Linked DNA regions of Homo sapiens: region 2 is linked to region 1. Evidence: promoter capture Hi-C in 16 types of primary human blood cells and fetal thymus (Javierre and others, 2016). All regions are on one chromosome and are shown on one strand. The core of a region is centred on a gene start or on the middle of the fragment in contact, and the rest is flanking DNA. Distances in the headings are between cores, read along the strand shown.

What was found. Contacts are between HindIII fragments. The CHiCAGO score rates a contact against its expected background, and 5 or more counts as called.
Region 2: a contact is called between the fragment with the promoter of SCGB1D4 here and the fragment with the promoter of SCGB1A1 in region 1, in 2 of 17 cell types (neutrophils and monocytes). The highest score is 15.4, in neutrophils.

The regions. Positions count from the first base shown.
Region 1 is chr11:62,415,473-62,420,812 of GRCh38, forward strand. It overlaps SCGB1A1 (secretoglobin family 1A member 1), which reads left to right and starts at 3,561. Exons shown (of 3, transcript NM_003357.5): 1 at 3,561-3,678. The coding sequence starts at 3,624. It overlaps LOC102723765 (a long non-coding RNA gene), which reads right to left. Exons shown (of 4, transcript XR_007062699.1): 2 at 1,233-1,378. RefSeq lists a silencer at 2,585-2,879. The HindIII fragment of the contact is 29,364 bases long and covers 1-4,510 here.
Region 2 is chr11:62,295,929-62,300,979 of GRCh38, forward strand. SCGB1D4 (secretoglobin family 1D member 4) reads right to left here and starts at 3,147. Exons shown (of 3, transcript NM_206998.2): 1 at 3,028-3,147; 2 at 1,544-1,730; 3 at 353-491. The coding sequence starts at 3,082. The coding sequence ends at 482. The HindIII fragment of the contact is 1,500 bases long and covers 2,319-3,818 here.

The sequences.
Region 1 (5,340 bases), core at 2,311-4,810:
TCTCCTCCTAGCTGTTAAGTTCCTCAAAGACCCAGGAGCCAGCTATCCTGTCCCCAGGACCTCGCACCATGAAGGTGGAAAGTAGAGAGCAGAGTCTGAGGCTATGGGTGATGTGACTCCTGCCTAAGACCCCTGCAGCCATCACAGCTGCCCCGGCCAGACCAGCCACTGCCCACAGAGGGATCCACTAGTGGCGGCACTGGATGGGCTTTAGGTGCCCCCAGTGGTCCAGCTCATCTTCCTTGCCCATTTCAGCTCCATTGGCCACAGCTTTCTTTTGTTTGTTTGTTTGTTTATTTATTTATTTATTTTTGAGATGGAGTTTCGCTCTTGTTGTCCAGGCTGGAGTGCAATGGTGTGATCTCGGCTCACTGCAACCTCCACCTCCTGGGCTCAAGTGATTCTCCTGCCTCAGCCTCCCAAGTAGCTGGGATTACAAGCACCTGCCACCACGCCCGGCTAATTTTTGTATTTTTAGTAGAGAGGGGGTTTCACCATGTTGGCCAGGCTGGTCTCAAACTCTCGACGACCTCAGTTGATCTGCCCTCCTCAGCCTCCCAAAGTGCTGGGGTTACAGGCAGGCTACACCTTTCAACAGTCCCTAAGAGGGGAGGGATGCAGACACCTGAAATCCTCAAGATGGGCTAACCTCAAGAGCCCAGATGATGGGACACAGAAGGAAACTTAAAAGAAAGAAGGCACTTCTGAGATGCTTTATGCAAATACAAGCAAATGCATATGTGGATTCTTTTTGCTTTTTTTTGAGACGGAGTCATGCTCTGTCACCAGGCTGGAGGTGCAGTGGCATGATCTCGGCTCACTGCAACCTCTGCCTCCTGGGCTCAAGTGATTCTCGTGCCTCAGCCTCCCGAGTAGCTGGGATTACAGGCAAGCGCCACCATACCCAGCTTTTTGTATTTTTTTAGTAGAGACGGGGTTTCACTATGTTGGCCAGGATGGTCTCAATCTGACCTTGTGATCCACCCGCCTCAGCCTCCCAAAGTGCTGGGATTACAGGCGTGAGCCACCGCGCCCAGCCTTCTCTTTGTTCTTTTTTGCTCTATTCATGCCTTGTTTTTCCCCCTTTGCAGTCTGCCTTGGAGATCATTTCACCATCAGCTCAGAAGATCTTCTTTCTCTGTTTTCAGCCACACAGCGTTTCATTGTAAGGACACACCATAACGTACTTGACAAGTCTTTGTTGGTTGCTAGTTTAGAACGTGTGCTCTTACCGGTGTTAAGGCGTCTCGGAGTGGGACGGTTCCGGGGTCACCACAGCCTTCAACTGTCACATGGCACAAAGGCCTCATGCATGGATTCATTCCAGGGATTCCTGTTTAGCAAGCGTTGCGTACCTTGGCTTACAGCGGCCTCAGCCCTAAAGGAGGTCAGTCAAGTAAAGGAGTCATACAAGAAAATAAGAATTGCAAAGTTAAAATATTGTATAATGGGCCCTGTAAGCAGAGGGGGAAGAGAGGCCCATGGGGAGAGTCACCACCCATCAGAACCACCTGTCGGGGAAGGCTTCACTCCCTATTTTCACCCCCAACCCTATTTTTCCCAAGTCTTCTCTGTGTCAGGAAATAACACCCCATTCCCCCAGCTGCCCAAGTCAGGGTCAGTTCATCAGGAAAGGGATATCAGACCATGTCACTCCCTGATTAAAACCTTCAAGAGCTTCCCACTCTGAGTGTAAAGGCCTTAGAACGAGGCCTTGTGTGCTCTGGCCCCTGAATGCCCCCTTTGCAGGCACAGCAACCCTTTCGAAGCCCTCAGGCACAATGGGGTCCTTCTTTTTTTTTTTTTTTTCTGAGACGGAGTTTTGCTCTTGTTGCCCAGGCTGGAGTGCAATGGCGTGATCTCAGCTCACCGCAATCTATGACTCCCAGATTCAAGCAATTCTCCTGCCTCAGCCTCCCAAGTAGCTGGGATTACAGGTGCCCACCACCACATCCAGCTAATTTTTGTATTTTTAGTAGAGACGGGGTTTCATCATGTCAGCCAGGCTGGTCTCAAACTCCTGACCTTAGGTGATCCACCTGCCTCAGCCTCCCAAAGTCCTGGGATTACAGGCATGAGCCACCCTGTCTGGCCTTTTATTTGTTTATTTATTTTTATTTATTTATTTATTTTTGAGGAGTTCTTGAAGTGCCACGCAATGCCTCTCCATGTCTATCTACCCCAGTTCCCGACTCCTAGCACCACATCTGGCACATCATAGGTGGTCAGCATTTATTGGATGAATGAATGGATCAATATTTGATTGAGTCTTGAAGTACGAATAGAATTTGGCGAAGTGGACAAGGCAGGAAATGTGTATTCAGGCATGAGGCTTAGCTTGTGCATAGGTAGAAAGGCATGAAAAAACATGGAACATTCTCGAATCCACAAATAGTAAGAGAGGGCTAAGTCGTTGTGTGGGGGAGAGGAGAAATGAAGTTCAAATGGTAGGCAAAGGTCAGTGGGCAAGGGCCTTGTAAATTGCACTTGAATTTTATTCTTTAGGCAAAAGGAAGAGTTTAAGGGTTTCAAGAAGAAGGACACGACCAGTGGGTTTTAGGAAGATCATTCTGATGGCCTTTCAGAGGATGGCTGAGGAGAGCTAGCAGGGAGGCAGGGAGGTCGAGTCAGGGGATTTTGACCAGGCCAGGTTAGGTGCTATGAGGCCCGGGCTTTGGAGAAGAACCAGGAAATGGCAACTGGAGGCAAGAAAGGGGAGAAGGCCAAAGCCTGGGAACCATCAACACTTAAGAACAGTAAAGAATAAACATCTAAAGAGAACAAGAAGGAATGGCCAGAAGAAGGAAAACAGGAAAGAACTGAGGCGTGGGAGCGCAAGAGAGAGAATGGTTCGAGAAGGAAGCAGTCACAGGTGTCAAGGCCATTGGGAGGTCAAGTGAGATAAGGACTGAAGGTCCCACCAATTGGGCCATCAGGAGCACAGGACTTGAGAGCACTTCTGGGTGGGAACAGACCCAGCCTGGGGCAGGGCTCAGGTTTCTGATGGGAATTCTGGAAGGGTCCCTTTTATTCAACATGCTTCAATCCAGGGGCCCCCGAAGTCTGACCACAGCAATGCTCCAAACCATGTGTCTTTCCTGGCTTAAGGTTCAGTCGCCCTCCTCAGAGGGGAGCCTATGAAAGAGCCCAGTGGAGTGTCAGGGTCCTGAGTCCTAGTCCTAGTCCTGTCCCTGCCACTTGTGAGGGAACTTGGGCCTCAGTTTCTCCAGGTGGGCTCCACAATTGCTTCTCTTGATCTGGACTGCCCCAGTGCCCAGGTTCAGTGAGTGACACAGGCAGCTGGGTTTCCACATCCTCTGACTTGGGTTCCCTTCACTGCCTCCAGGCAGGGCTCGGCCCTCCACCCCCAAGTGGCCCATTGTGTGAGCTCAGTTTCAGTGGGGACAGAAACTGGGTTGAGAAAAGGGAATATTTACCTATCCCACCAAGCCAATGCCAAGTAAATAGTGCAGTATCTTATGTAGAGCCCTTGCCCTGCCCTTCCCCATCTGGGTGCTGCTGCCTAGAGCATATAAAAGGCACCTTGCTGGGCATGTCTCATACTAGCCCACCAGACTCAGAGACGGAACCAGAGACGGGCCAGAGCATCCCCCTCCTCCACCATGAAACTCGCTGTCACCCTCACCCTGGTCACACTGGCTCTCTGCTGCAGCTCCGGTGAGTGCTCAGAGACCCTTCCCTCCCTCCTGGACTTAGGAACTCTCAGGACCCCCCAGTTCTGCTCAGAAGAAGGAGTGAGCTGCCCATTCCTGCTCTGGAGCTGCTGGGAGGACCTGGGCATGCTGAGTCTCAGAAAACTGGGTCTGGTGAGCAAGCTCATCTTGGAAACTTGGAGAGAGCCCCAGGCTGTAAGGAAGCCTAAAAAGGGTCCCATCTTCTATATCCAACAACCCTCAGAATCCCAGGGAATGGAATAGCCTGGAGGGAGGAGTGGAGAATACCCCATAAAGATGAGTACATCCAGCATAGGAATAATGAGGCCCTCATCCCAGATCTGGACAGACTCCAAGATGCTGAGACCTTGGTGCAGCCTCCAAGTCTGGGGTCTCCACTCCATGCTGGCAGCTGAAGTCACTGGAAGGGGAGCTGCAGGGACTCGTGACCCCAAAAGAAACCCAACCCAAGACAAGGTCTCTCATTCTGGGCACAGAGGAATATTCCAGAAAGAGAGCTTCCCTTTGGGGAACTGCCAACCCAGAGTGAAGTTTTCTAAACATTTCCGTCCTCTGCAAAAGGGATTAGGAGTCTCTGAGTAGTTGCTGCTGTCACTAAAAGGAAAAGAACTGTGGGGGGAAGAGGGGCAGAAAGAGAGACGGAGAGAGGGGGAGAAAGGAAGGAAAGAAGGATCACAGCTCTCTCCAAGATCCCCCGTCTTTGGGGAACTGGGTTATCTAACTCTGTTTTTCACTCTGCGTCAGCCTCTTCCATTCTCATCTGAAAATGCTGTTGTTATTTTTTAATAAACAAACTCCAATTAATTCACTTGGAAAGCTTCACAACACCCATGGAGATAAGTTTTATGACCCTGGGGAGTTAGAAAACCCAAACCAAGAAGCAGTAGGAACAACTATTTTGCAGAGAGGTTTATTTGTTTTTCAGAGAAAATGACATCATTTTGGACTGAAATGTGTATTAATTAGAAGATCTCAGTGCTGTCTGCGTACAGAGGTGGGTGGCTGAGCAAGATAGGACTGCAACATGTTAAGGGGTGGGTCAGAGATGCATTTGTCTATTTGTGTGCACATGCATACAATATTTAACACTTACTTCACACAATGTGCCAATCACTGTCACCCTTTCACATAATATCTCTTTTCATTCTTTTTTTTTTTTTTTTTTGAGACAGAGTCTCGCTCTGTTGCCAGGCTGGAGTGCAGTGGCGCGATCTCAGCTCACTGCAACCTCCGCCTCCCGGGTTCAAGCGATTCTCCTGCCTCAGCCTCCCAAGTAGGTGGGATTACAGGCACGCACCACTGCACCCAGCTAATTTTTGTATTTTTAGTAGAGACAGGGTTTCACCATGTTGGCCAGGATGGTCTCCATCTCTTGACCTCGTGATCCACCCACCTAGGCCTCCCAAAGTGCTGGGATTAGGCGTGAGCCACCATGCCTGGCCTCTCTTTTTATTCTTACAACAACCCTATGAAGTAGGGATATTGGGCCAGGCACGGTGGCTCACGCCTGTAATCCCAGCAATTTGGGAGGCCGAGGTGGGTAGATCACTTGAGGTCAGGAGTTCAGGACCAACCTGGCCAACATGGTGAAACCTTGTCTCTATTAAAAATACAAAAATTAGCCAGGCATGGTGGCGCATGCCTG
Region 2 (5,051 bases), core at 1,897-4,396, 120 kb before region 1:
ATCTGAGGGGACAACAAACTAGGGCTAGGGCTGCTGCTAGTGGGAACCACGTGCCTGGACACCAAGGCAGGCTGGGAGATCCCTCAGTCCAAGACCAGCAGGACCACTGTAATTGCTGTTTTCTATTGCCATGGTTTTCATTCGCGAACGCAGGATGGGAAATCTGTAAGGAATCCAGGATGATTTCTGCAAATATTTCCTTCTGGGATGCTTGCATTCAGGCCCCATTAGTAACAGAATGCTGGTTACTCTAGAGTTGATTATCAGCCACAGCAAAAGTCCACTCCCCTATGGAAACCACCCTCGATTCAAGGCCCGAGACTGCAGGATCATAACAAGACCAGTGGAGATGTGCAGGGCAAGTGATTTATTAAAGCAACGTGTTGAAACCTTTACAATTTTTAGTGAAGATCAGGGTGTCGTTGAAAGACTTTGGAAACCAGGTTGAGCATTTTTACATGTCACACACCACATTTTTTCACTATTTCCACCTGAAATCAAAAAAAAGAAAGAAAGAAAGAAAGGTGAGGTCAGTCATGCTGCTGCTGGTGATGATAGGCTAACATCAAAGAGGCCAATGGGATTTTGCCCCAATGGCAATTGGAAAGGCAGAGGCAAGAATTCAGTTTGGGAAACTGAGGCCTAGACCTGGTGGCCTTACAACACCCATTCTGGTGAGAAAGCAGCCTTTCCCCACCAGACCAATAGACCTGGGAAGACCCAGGAGTTAGGCCCAGGGTTTTCATGGAGGAGGAGGGGAGGGGTTGACAGTGCAGCAAGAGGTTGTTGTCTGGGCTGTCCCAGGTCTGTGGAGTCTCCTGATCCCTGTAATGGGGGACCCAGGGCTCTGAAGCCAGGCAGGGCAGGGAGGGCTTCTGGGAAACACACCTTCCAGGAGACTCCAGTCTTCCCATGGGAGAATTCTGCCTAACGGCCAGGGGTCTTATCAGCCCTGACCCTGCAGCTTCTATGGGTATTTGCAGCCAAACCTCAGGACAACAATCCAGAGGCAGCCAGGCTGAGAGGGCCCTGGAATCTCTGATTTCTTGAGAAAGACATAGTGAGAACATCCCACTTGTGTGGCGTTGCAGTAGGTAGAGCAGCGAAAAAGTCTTGGCCCACTGGCTGTGGTCAGGAGAGTGTCATGGATGAGGAGTGGATAGTGGGCCCTGAGGAGCTGCAAGGGGCTCCTGGCTCTGCAGAAGCTGCACAGGAGCCCAGTTCACCAGCACCCTGTCTGTGGGAGGCCCAGCTCTAGGTCCCCTCAAGCCTCCTCTCCCTGTTCAAATCTCCCACACTCCCTGGGACATCCCATAGTGACCGTGTCCACTGCGTGAGGGTAGGTTGACCTCAGGAAAGATCCCAGCAGGGAGGCGGCCGTGCTTGGCCCTTCACCATCCCTGCCTTGGCCCTAGCTCACTCCCCATGTCCTCAGCACACTCTGGGGACACAGCATCCAGGCAGGTGACCTGACAAGAAACATGCAGGAGGCTGTGTGCAGCTGAGTTGAATTCTGCCTCTGCATAAAGGAGAAAGAAATTACCAGGACTTTTTCAATGAGAGTCGTTTCTTAAAAGATATCTGATCGGTGCAGTGCTTCACTTCCAACTTGGCTGCAAGAGCTTCTGGAGGTGGATTAAGTTTGGCAACTTGGAGGTTTACCGCAGCGTCACTTAAGAATAAGAAGACTGTGATCTCAGAAGCAACAGCTGGGCAGACAAGAGCATGGGCTGCAGCACAAAAATAAAAATATTGTTGATGTTAGGAAAGTCGATTTTTCTCTCATGGCTCCCTGAGGTTACACCAGACAGGATCCCCTGGGTTCTATGTTTCTATACCATTATTGTGCTGATGACAATACCAGAAACTCCAGGTGTGACTTTCTCCGGGTCACACAACAAAGGGAAGAGCTTCATATCCTCAGCTAGACTTCTTTTTCTTTTTTTTGAGATAGGTTCACCCAGACTGGAATGCAGTGGCACAATCTCGGCTCACTGCAGCCTGAATGTCTTGGGCTCAAGCGATCCTCCCTCAGCCCCCAAAGTAGCTGAGACTACCAGTGCCTGCCACCATGCCCGCTTTTGTGTGTGTGTGTGTGTGTGTGTGTGTGTGTGTGTGTTTTGTTTTGTTTTTTTTTTTTGTAGAGATGGGGTTTCGCCATGTTGCCCAGGCTGGTGCTGAACTCCTGAGCTCAAGTGATCTGCCCACTGTGGCCTCCCAAAGTGCTAAGATTACAGGAATGAGACACCATGCCTGGCCCACAGCTTGACTCTTGACAACCATAACCTTACTTCATTCTCATAGCCACTCCTGGCAGAAGCTTTAACCACCAGTGATAAGAGGAGGCTCAAGGAGGGTGAGCATTGTGCCCAAGATCAAGGGGTGGGAAGTGTCGAAGCCCAGGTTCACCCCAGACCTCACATTACATCATCTGACACAGATCCCATTCAGAAGTGAAGCTCAGGCAGAAGAATTCCTAACATTTGCCTGAACTGATTTTTCTATAAAACTTCTTAGATACTGGGGATTAGAAGAAATAGCTCTAAGCAGCCAGGCGCAGTAGCTCATGCCTGTTATCCCAGCACTTTAGGAGGCCGAGGCGGGCAGATCATCTGAGGTCGGGAGTTCGAGACCAGCCTGACCAACATGGAGAAACCCCATCTCTACTAAAAATACAAAATTAGCCAGCTGTGGTGGCCCATGCCTGTAATCCCAGCTGCTCAGGAAGGCTGAGGCAGGAGAATCACTTGAACCCCGGAGGCAGAGGTTGCAGTGAGCCAAGATCATGCCACTGCACTCCAGCCTGGGCAACAAGAGCAAAACTTCTCAAAAAAAAAAAAAAAAAAAGGAAGAAGAAAGAAGAAATAGCTCTAACCTTTATGAATCTTATTCAACAAGCACAGAAAAGGGTTTGGAATTTTGTTTGGTTTTGTGCAGACCCCAACCCAAAGCACAAATAGGTGATCTTGTGCTCAGAAGAGGGTGCATCCCAGGGGCTGGTGCTGGACTCATGACTGATGTACTCACCCTGGTAGCAGCAAAGGGCCAGCGAGACCATCAGGAGACACACTGACAGCCTCATGGTGGCTTATTCGGCTGTGAGCTCAGCTTTCACAATGAGTGATTTGGATTCGACTCCAGGAGCCTGTGTAGTCATGGAGGCCAGGGCTATTTGTACCTAGGGAGCCTGGCTGGTCCTACCTACCGGGGCACCTGGTAGGTCATGAGGCCTGGCTCCCAGCCCGCCCTTCCAAGCCAGGGCTGCTGCCGTCCATCAATGTCACCTCCTTAGGAATCTCTGCATCTGAGTGGGGCGGAGCACAAGACAGCAGCCTTGTGAGAACTCTGCTCTGTGCTCCAGGTGAGTGTTCAGGTACATCTGGAAATGTTCCTGGGATCCTCAATTTCCTTATGAGCTTTTGCTGATTAGTTCTTTTTATCTTTGTAGCAGTGCAGGGGCACAGGTGAATTATGGCTTCACAAGGCACAGGAAGCTGGAAGGCTGTGTTCTCTTTATGGGAGAGCAGGGACATAAGGAGACCCTGCTTTGATCCCCCTGCATGTCTGACAACAAGCAGGCTTGTTTCAGTTGCACATTGGGAAAGTCTAATCCTTCCCCTCAGCCCCTTCCATCACCACCATGTTCACTGCATAGGTACTGAAAACATAGTTGAATACATCCCACCTGTAGAAGATATGCTGAGGAAAAACATCTGCTGCACCTGTTCTCTAGCCTGCCTCACTCCCAAACCTGAATCTTGTTTATACGTGCAGTTATATATATGGCCAAGATTCACATTTTCTATCTATAAAAAGCAAGCTTTCTGTGATGTGTAGCCACCCACGTCTTATCTTAGGGCTGATCTGAAGATTAAATAACCTAACTCTTTTTCTCAAGAGCTTTTGGAGTGTTCAGAGCCAATCATACATCAGTGGGGCTCTAGGCTGGGAAGATAATAGAAGGGAAGAGACAGAGGAACAGGGTGGGTGGTCACTTCCCCCTAACCCCTAGGCTCAAGTTTTCCACTTCAAACCTATCTGTGCTGCCTGGGCCAATCCCATTTTTAAGGGAAAGTGAAGGAAGCCCCCAGACAAAGCAATACACACCCGCCTTCCCTCCCATTGCCGTGCCTTCATGTGGTGTGAGTTTAATCACCAGAAATTTTTCTCTTAAATAAACTTACATTTGAGAGGAGTCACAGCCCAGGCCATAGCTTTCCATTCTCAGCTATGTAGTCAAATCACTTGGAGCTTTTAAAACATACTGACCCCACAGGCTTCTCTCTCTGGCGATTTTGATTCAGTAGCATTGGGGTGAATCCCTCCTTTCTGTACTGTTTAAACTGCTCTGGTGTTTCTCACAGACAGCAGGGCTGAGATCCAGCCAGGAAAACCTTTAAGAAGGAAGGGGACCTTACGGGTTTTGTCATCAAAGACACATTGACAGATTTAGTTGAGTCCAAGCTGAGGGCAACAGTGGATCTCACTTTCATCACACAGGATGACGACGGAGTCCCTGAATCAGCCCTGCTGCCACCAAGGAGGGGGAGGGTTGGTGGTGAGGTTTACAGCTATGAGGGTTCAGATCCTCATTTATGGGCTCCTGGACCTTAGGAAAATTATTCAGTTTATGTAACCCCAGTTTTCTCATTTGTCAAAGTAGGCTACTAATGGTGCCTACATCATTGGGTTGATAGATGATCAAATGAGTGTGTTCATGGGTGTGTGTGTGTTTAAAATATACCAAGTTCTGGTACATAGTAGTTCTCAATGTAAACTGCCATTATCTTGTCCCATTTGTCATATATGTCATGGTTTGCCAGTAGTTCCTAGTTTAGAGCACAGCCAAAATCCACTAAATCACCTACTTGCAGAACTACACGGACACCTAGATACACCATTTCTCTTTGACATAAATGGAAAAGGAAACCCAGCTCATGGTCTTGGAGGCTGCAAACCCATGAATATGGGCTTCAGGACTGAGGCCTCTTTTGCAGTAGACAGGTCTGTGAAGCATCCACCCTTTTTGTGGATGAGAGTTTATCCTCACT